Linked DNA regions of Homo sapiens: all the other regions are linked to region 3. Evidence: promoter capture Hi-C in 16 types of primary human blood cells and fetal thymus (Javierre and others, 2016). All regions are on one chromosome and are shown on one strand. The core of a region is centred on a gene start or on the middle of the fragment in contact, and the rest is flanking DNA. Distances in the headings are between cores, read along the strand shown.

Region 1 (2,700 bases), core at 113-2,612, 110 kb after region 3:
TGGTATTACTGAAATTGCTCAACATGCCCCTTTTAAAGAAATGTTTACTGGCTGGGCATGGTGGTTCACGCCTGTAGTCCCAGGACTTTGGGAGGCCAAGAAGGTTGGATTGCTTGAAGCCAGGAGTTCGAGACAAGGCTGGCCAACATGGTGAAACCCTGTCTCTACTAAAAATACAAAAATCAGTTGGATGTGGTGGTGCATGCCTGTAATCCCAGCTACTCAGGTGCCTGAGGCAGGAGAATTGCTTGAACCTGGGAGGCAGAGGTTGCAGTGAGCCGAGACTGCATCACAGCACTCCAGCATGGGCAACAGTGAGAGACCCTGTCTCAAAAATAAATGAATAAACAAAAATAAAGAAAAGCTGTGGGACATGCTAGTTTTGTGTGTTTTTTTTTTTTTTTCTCCAGGAGCGACTCCTACAGATATTTTCCTATTTTTTGGTGATATTTTACCAGAAAAAAACAAAAAACAAAATAAAATCTCTCTTGTTTTTCTGTGAATAAATTTTATCATGCTTTTTCATTTTAACAGTACTTTTCACAAACTTATACATGTTTTACATTATGGAGTAGATGAGACTTTATCCTGCCATTGACTCTGATGTCCACAAAGCTATATTTTGAGGCCCAAGCACAGTCCTTGCTCTATCACATTTGTGCTCCAGGAAGTTAATGAGGTTTAGGAACTAATATTCTGTAAAAGAGGTCAGGGAGCTTTTCTTCAAATTTTAGATCTGCTAACAGCTTTGTGATTCTCTGCCTAGGTTTCCACAATTGCCAGGCTAGACAGGGGAAACTGATTGTAGTGGTCTGTTCTTATGTGGCTAATAAAGACATACCCAAGACTGGGTAATTTATAAAGAAAAGAGGTTTAATTGACTCACAGTTCTACATGGCTGGGGAGGCCTCACAATCATGGTGGAAGGTGAGTGAGGAGCAAAGTCATGTCTTACATGGTGGCAGGCAAGAGAGCTTGTGCAGGGGAACTCCCCTTTATAAAACCATCAGATCTCATGAGATTTATTCACTACCATGAAAACAGTTTGGGGGAAACTTCCCCCATGATTAAATTATTTCCACCTGGTCCTACTCTTGACGTGTGGGTATTACTACAATTCAAGGTGAGAATTTGGTGGCGACACAGCCAAACCCTATCATTCTTACCCTGGTCCCTCCCAAATCTCATGTCCTCACATTTTAAAACCAATCATGCCTTTCCAACTGTGCCCCTAAATCTTAGCTCATTTCTGCATTAACCCGAAAGTCCACAGTCCAAAGTCTCATGTGAGACAAGACAAGTTCCTTCTGCCTATGAGCCCGTAAAATCAAAAGCAAGTTAGTTACTTCCTAGATCCAATGGGTACGGGCATTGAGTAAATACACCTAGGGTACAGGTATTGAGTAAATACACGGGTTACAAATGGTAGAAATTCGCCAAACGGGGGCTACAGGCCCCATGCAAGTCTGAAATCCAGTGGGGTAGTCAAATCTTAAAGCTCCAAAATGATCTCCTTTCACTCCATGTCTCACATCCAGGTCTCTGATCTTAACTATTCTTCAAAAGACTAATGAGGAATCTGCAAAACTGAGCTAACTCCACACTTATCCAGTGTGGCTGGGAAAGCGGTTGCTAAAGTTTGGATGTTTGTCTTTCCAACCCTCATGTTGAAATTTGATCCCCAGTGTTGGAGGTGGGGCCTAATGGGAGGTGGTTGGGTCATAGGGGTGGACCCCTCATGAATACATTATTGCCCTACCTGAAGTTGGGGATGGTGAGTAAGTTCGCTCTTAGTTCCTGAGGGAGCTGGTTGCTAACAGGAGCCTGGCACCTCCCCACTCTCTCTCTTGCTTCCTCTCTTTCCATGTGATCTCTGCACATGCCAGCTCCCCTTCACCTTCCTCCATGAGTGGAAGCAGCCTGAGGCCCTCATCAGAAGCAGATGTTGGTGCCACACTTCTTGTATAGCCTGCAGAACTGTGAGCCAAATATGCCTTTCTTCTTTATACATTACCCAGTCTCAGGCACGCCTTTATAGCAATGCAAAATGCACTGAGACAGTGGTGTTCTGCTTAATGATGGTAGAAGTATATTCCTGTTTCATATTGCTTATTTATTGTTCAGAGACTGCTTAATCTTCGCCAAATTAATTTTTCTTCCTCCAGAGTATACAACTAGATGACATTTTCCAGTCTCCTTTGTAATTAGGCATAATTTGAGCACTGGCCAGTGAGACATGACAGACGTAATATGCATCACTTCAAACCTGGTCTAGTACCCTCCAATGACCACATCTCACATGCTCTTTTCTCTTCTGAATGGGTGCAACGAAGACACCTTTAGTGTGACCTTGGAGACCACATTTGAACATGGTGAAGCCAAAGGATGGAATGGTCCTCAAATCACTCAGAGAAAAGACGCCTGACCAGGAAGACCCCAAGTGGACTCTTACACAAGCGAAATATAAGATAATGCTGTTTTAATCCACTGGGATTTTAGAGTTTGTAAGTTATATAATAGTTAGAATTACTATAACTAATACACATTAAATATCCTTTCAAAGAATTAAAATGGCATAAAATATACTTTACAATTGAATGAAAATTTCATTTTTTGTAGATTTAAAGTATATTACAGTCTTTCGCTCAGGGTTATCACTTGTTTGTTTTGTTTGTTTATTTTGTTTTTGAGACAGATTCT
Region 2 (2,805 bases), core at 11-2,510, 92 kb after region 3:
AGGCCGGGTGCGGTGGCTCACGCCTGTAATCCCAGCACTTTGGGAGGCCGAGGCGGGCGGATCACGTGGTCAGGAGATCGAGACCATCCTGGCTAACATGGTGAAACCCCTTCTCTACTAAAAATACAAAAAAACTAGCCGGGTGTGGTGGCGGGTGCCTGTAGTCCCAGCTACTCGGGAGGCTGAGGCAGGAGAATGGTGTGAACCCGGGAGGCGGAGCTTGCAGTGAGCCGAGATTGCGCCAATGCACTCCAGCCTGGGTGACAGAGCAAGACTCTGTCTCAAAAAAAAAAAAAAAAAATGGACTTCAGAGTCAAAGACCCAGACTTTGACAGGGTGAGGGAAATATCAACTCACCAACTTCTTCATTTCTTCCTTTTGTAAAAAGTAACATGCAGTGCTTAAGTGGGAACTTGACAAGACTTTACAAGTAGGAAAAAGCAGTATTCTAAATAGGCCTTTTCAATAACTGCTTGTCCACTGCACCAATACAAGCAGTCGTTTCTGATGGGTTTTCTAAGAGAGTGCTGATTTAATTCTCACAAACAGTGTATTTCTAGGAAATGCAAGTATTGGGGCAGTTCTTTGGAGGGCTATCACAGAAAGTACAGGAAAAGCCTGAGATTATGAATAAAATCAGTGGTTCACTCGCATTTCCTTCATGATCCACTTCTAGTTATAGGAAGCGGTAGGGCTTATCACGAAGAATTGGTCCAATCGATATGGCAAAAACTATCGCTAGGCATTTTAGGTGGCAAATAAGAGACTCTCATCTTTATTCCGTTAGATTTGATCTCGTACTACAGCTGGGAAAGATCACTCGCACAGGAGTGAAAACAGTTCACACAGCAGGTAATTAAGGCAGGATGAAGCTGTCCCCTTACCCACAGTGTCATTCTAGGGCAAACTCTGTCTCCCTTTGTTCGTATGTCCAACATGAATCTCCACCTTCTCTGTTGCAGATTAATCCTGTCCATAAAATGACCTAGCATTTTATTGAGTGGTATCAGAGCTGTACTGATTTACTCTGCCTGAAGGTCACATACGAGGATAAACAAAAAAAAGTATTGCAATTCCTTTCTGCACATCTGACTTCAGCTACGACTTGTCACAGGGAGCTGGAGAGCTTTCTCTAGGGCTGTCTTCCTCGAACTCCCATGGAATTTGAACTCCCATCAAAACACTGGGACTTTGGGGCTAGTCAGATATGGGGTCAAAACAACCAGTTTTTCAAAAAATAAAAAGGCAGACGATTACCGATAAAGAATTCCAAGGAATTTTGGAATATGTTTCTTTAAAAAACTTCATGTTTTATATAACTAATGAATATTCATTGCAGAACAGCTTGAAACAGAGGGAAGAAAAGAATAATGAGATAATCATAATGACTTATGATGCAGCCACCAAGCAGCAAATTCTTTTATCACTCTGGAATATCCCAGCATTTTGGGATATGTGTGCGTGTGTGTGTGTATGTGTGTGTGTGTGTGTGTGTGTGTGTGCGCAAAGCAAAAACACTCAATTACATGTACTCTCAGTTTCTTACAGCAAATCTGCTTCTCTTCTATATACTAAAAGGTATAAATGAGATTTTTAATGTGATTAAGTTGATGAGCTAAAATTTAACAGAGCATGTAAAGATCAAAGATGAAGTGAGGAAAGCCAGAAACATTTCACTTAAATATCTGAATGCAATGCATGATTACTAAGCCAAAGAAAAACTATTTATCTGGCCTGAGAATGTTATTTAAATCCCAGGCTCATTCATGCTAAACAGAGGCAACATTTTCCATTCACTTCTCCAAGGCTTCTCTTCTGGTGGAAGTAACCCCTCCTTTCATTCCCCCTGTAGCATTCCTATTTATGGGCTTAATGCCCACAATTGAGAAGGATAAGTTTAGAAGGTGTTCATTGCCAAAATGATGATATTTAAATGGTAGGTCAATTTTAAACAAGGTGACTTTTTCAGGTTGTGCCAATCTGTAAACATTATTCTTGCCATAGTACTATAAATGAAAATCCAATAATAAAAAGGCCAGAAGAAGAATTATTTAGAATGATGTATTAAGGAGTTGGAGCTACTTTTCTTTCTCTAATGAAGTAAAAAGAAACTGCATTTTAAAGTTTAAAAAGTCACATAATCTTCCACCTAAATAGGACTTTTATTTCTTTTATGTTCTTATTGTGTTCACAATCAAAACCTGCAGAAGAAAATATTTGTCAAATCATCACATTTTGCTTTTGGATGCAATCATCTAATACCAACCCCAAATAAAGAAATTATATTAATGGAAATTTTCATTATTATCACCATCAAAACTCATGTGGAGCCAGGAACAAGTAGAATATTCTCTGGCTTGGGTGCAGCCTATGGAATGACGGCAGGTACTACTCTCAAAACAGAATGTACGCTTCTTTGGAATTCTTCTGTGAACAGTTTATTAATTTTACGCCTTGAAAGGTAATGGAAGTACACCTAGTATTGCCAGATACTCTATCTCTTCTTCCAGCATTTCTCCTTATTGGCCAGCATTGCCTATTCTGAACAACTAAAAGAAATTAAAAAGTTAAAATGTACCTCTTTTTTAGAAAGCAGAGATAGCATGCAGGTATGTGTATGTTTTCTACAATATCTACAATATGTGCGTTTCTCAAAGCGAACACAGTAACTTTCGTCTCCAAGAGGAAGCCCTGCCTGTATGGCTCATCCCCACACTCCCAGCCACGTGACTTGCAACTATGCAGGCCTAATGCATCTGGCCTACTAATTCACTTACTGCTCTCCATTTAATTCCTGCAGTCAAT
Region 3 (2,748 bases), core at 215-2,714:
AAATCCCAAAGTTTCCGAAGCCAGAAGGAAGTGAAGAAGAGAGTTAAAAGGGGGCAGATATTGGTGATGGTTGCCAAGGAGGGCTTGGAATCTTGCCTTACACTCTGCTGTTGCTTTTAAATGCGGAGAAGGTTGGAGGAAAAAGAGGTCGCATCTGATAATATTGATCAGACTCAAAGAAGATGCGTGCCTCATGCCCTCCTGTCTGGTGCCCAGAGGTGGCAGCTGCTCAGAGGTCACTAGGTCACCATGGCAGAAGCACCGATGACCTGAATGCCTGTGGTAATGAATTCTTCCTTAGTCTTGCCTAAGACGTAAACTCAGCTGGGCGAACACCTTGATTTCAGTGTTGAGACCCTGAACAGGGAACCTTGTTGTAAGCTGCTAAGTTTGTGGTGATTTGCTATGCAGAATGGGGCCACAACAGGCAGCTTCGAGGCAAGTTATACAAAAATGAAATGACTGATCTTGCTCGCCTGAATACGATGGATTAAAAATATTATACACACTTTACATGTAAATGAGCAATGTATTGTCTCACACATAAGAAATCCTAGTTCTACTTGGGTTGTGGATTTTCTCCCCTCATTGCTGTAGGGGCCTTTCTTGCCTTCGTCCCTCCAAGGGAATATTCAGCACCTGCCATACCTCTTCTGAGCACACTGTCTTTTCTCGACAGCCCAGGTGAGGTACATTCCTGGTGCTCCCCAATCTATTCATATCAAGGCTGTACCCAGCTTTATCAAGGAAGACAATGTCCCTATAGGGCCAGGAAACAAGATCCCTCCCACCTTCTTTCAGACATTTTCTATGAACTTCTCCGAGGCCTTGGGGCCACGGCCTCATTAAAAGGACTGTTCTCTGGAGGCTCAGCAACGGAGGTCCTATCGGTACCCAGGATGACAACAGGAGAAAGTGATCAGCCGGTCATAAGGATTTCAAAAAAAAAAAAAAAAAAGAATATCTAAAAGTACTTATTAGAAATGAGAGTCACCAAATGTTTTACTTCAGGTATATCTATTATTTCATAGGTAATATGTAACTTCCTGAGAATCAAGACTGTAGGTCAGACCCAAATGAAGCAGTGATAACCCCGGGCTAAGAGCCCTCAGTTTACGGTGATTTTCTGAGTAGAAGGTATCATTCCTATGTTTAATATTCCTTCCTCATCCTGACTCAACAGCTATTCCATAGCATTAGGATATTTTGAGTCAAGGAAGTTCACAGTCTACACTCATTGAATTGAATGATATTGGTGAGGGGACCTACAGGAAGTCTTTCCTTGTAATGCTCAGGAATAAACAGGTGGTGGGAACAGAGATCCTTGTCAGCCCAGTGACCTTCGCACTTTATAAGTAATCCCAGGCAAGAGTTCTAGGAATGCAGCCTGCATGAGGGCTCAGGGCATGGTCAGATAGGGGCAGACCAGGGGCAGGTGCCTGGCTCCTCTCTGGGGTCAGAGCAGGCTCCCTCCCTGCCAGGTTGTGGGTGCAACATTCAGGGAATGGTTACTGAAGTGTTCCAGGCACCAGAGCTCAGGCAAGAAGTGGAAAACTGCGCAAGATCCTGCACGTGGGTACCATCAGTGCCTTTGTGGGGAAGTTACATCTGTGTGTATGTATATATACTTAGTATATATATACGATATACTTAGTGTACTTATATCGTGTATATATACTATGTACTTAGTATACTTACTTATATACAATGTACATATACTTAGTGTATATATACATTGCATGTTGAACTTACTATATATATACACACACACTACACACACACACTAATTGGTCCGCTAATTGGCTGTTGCATTTTGAACTTGGTATGTGTGTATATATACATGTGTGTGAGTATATATACACACATATATACGTATGTATATACATATCATATACATACATGTGTATAGATATGTGTGTATATATGTATATGTGTGTATATGTATATGTGTTTATATATGTATATATGTATTTATGTATATATACACACACACTAAATTCAATAGATATATATGCGTGTGTGTATATACACACACACACACACACACACACACACACACTGAGTTCAAAATGCAAGAGCCAATTAGTGGGCCAATATGAGAATTAAAAAAGAAAAAAATGTACAGCAAATTGAATAGGACGTATCAGAATGCATACCACATAATGACAATCAATATCACTTCATTAAATTTTTGCTCGACATACACACACGTATAAAATTATGTCTATAGTCATGATGTACGTACAATGTATTTTGTGTTGAATAATGTTGGAAAGCCACTGCAGTGGATATTTTGACATCTTTTATTAATATTTAAAAGAAGAGGGTGAAACAAAAAATGTGAAAAAAGACAAAAAAGTTTGACAGTACTGAATTTAGGAGAAATTGAAGGTTAGTTCTAGGAAATTTGCCTTCTTCCCCCTAGTTATGGCAAAAAATAACTTTTCTGGGGTTATAAGTCTGTGAAATATATAGGTAAATTTAAAAAATTTAAAAATGTGTAAATATCCAGTGTGAAATACATGTGAGATTGCTTACAGAAACGGACAAGGCCAATATACATGTGAGGCTTCTGGTTATAATGAATTCCAAGGAGATAAACTCATTTCATGTCCTCTGAGCCAACCGGGCAGTACCTACTTGGGAAAAATGTTTGAGGGCTCTCGATTTTTAAACCTGCTGAACCAATTAAAAGCGTATAAATTTTTCTAGAAGTCTAAATTAATTCTACGTCTATAATAATAATTA

Evidence for each region. Contacts are between HindIII fragments. The CHiCAGO score rates a contact against its expected background, and 5 or more counts as called.
Region 1: a fragment that was not itself captured here is called in contact with the fragment with the promoter of CHRM3-AS1 in region 3 in 5 of 17 cell types (monocytes, M2 macrophages, M0 macrophages and 2 more); the score reaches 16.7 in monocytes.
Region 2: a contact is called between a fragment that was not itself captured here and the fragment with the promoter of CHRM3-AS1 in region 3, in 1 of 17 cell types (monocytes). The highest score is 8.1, in monocytes.

What each region holds. Positions count from the first base shown.
Region 1 is chr1:239,788,754-239,791,453 of GRCh38, reverse strand. The region is part of intron 5 of CHRM3 (cholinergic receptor muscarinic 3); the gene reads right to left. Among named protein-coding and RNA genes, the nearest start is that of CHRM3-AS2, 71 kb to the right of the region's middle. The HindIII fragment of the contact is 5,345 bases long and covers 1-2,700 here.
Region 2 is chr1:239,806,516-239,809,320 of GRCh38, reverse strand. The region is part of intron 5 of CHRM3 (cholinergic receptor muscarinic 3); the gene reads right to left. Among named protein-coding and RNA genes, the nearest start is that of CHRM3-AS2, 89 kb to the right of the region's middle. The HindIII fragment of the contact is 4,094 bases long and covers 1-2,805 here.
Region 3 is chr1:239,898,588-239,901,335 of GRCh38, reverse strand. It overlaps CHRM3-AS1 (CHRM3 antisense RNA 1), which reads left to right and starts at 1,464. Exons shown (of 2, transcript NR_046582.1): 1 at 1,464-1,572. The region is part of intron 6 of CHRM3 (cholinergic receptor muscarinic 3); the gene reads right to left. The HindIII fragment of the contact is 7,774 bases long and covers 1-2,748 here.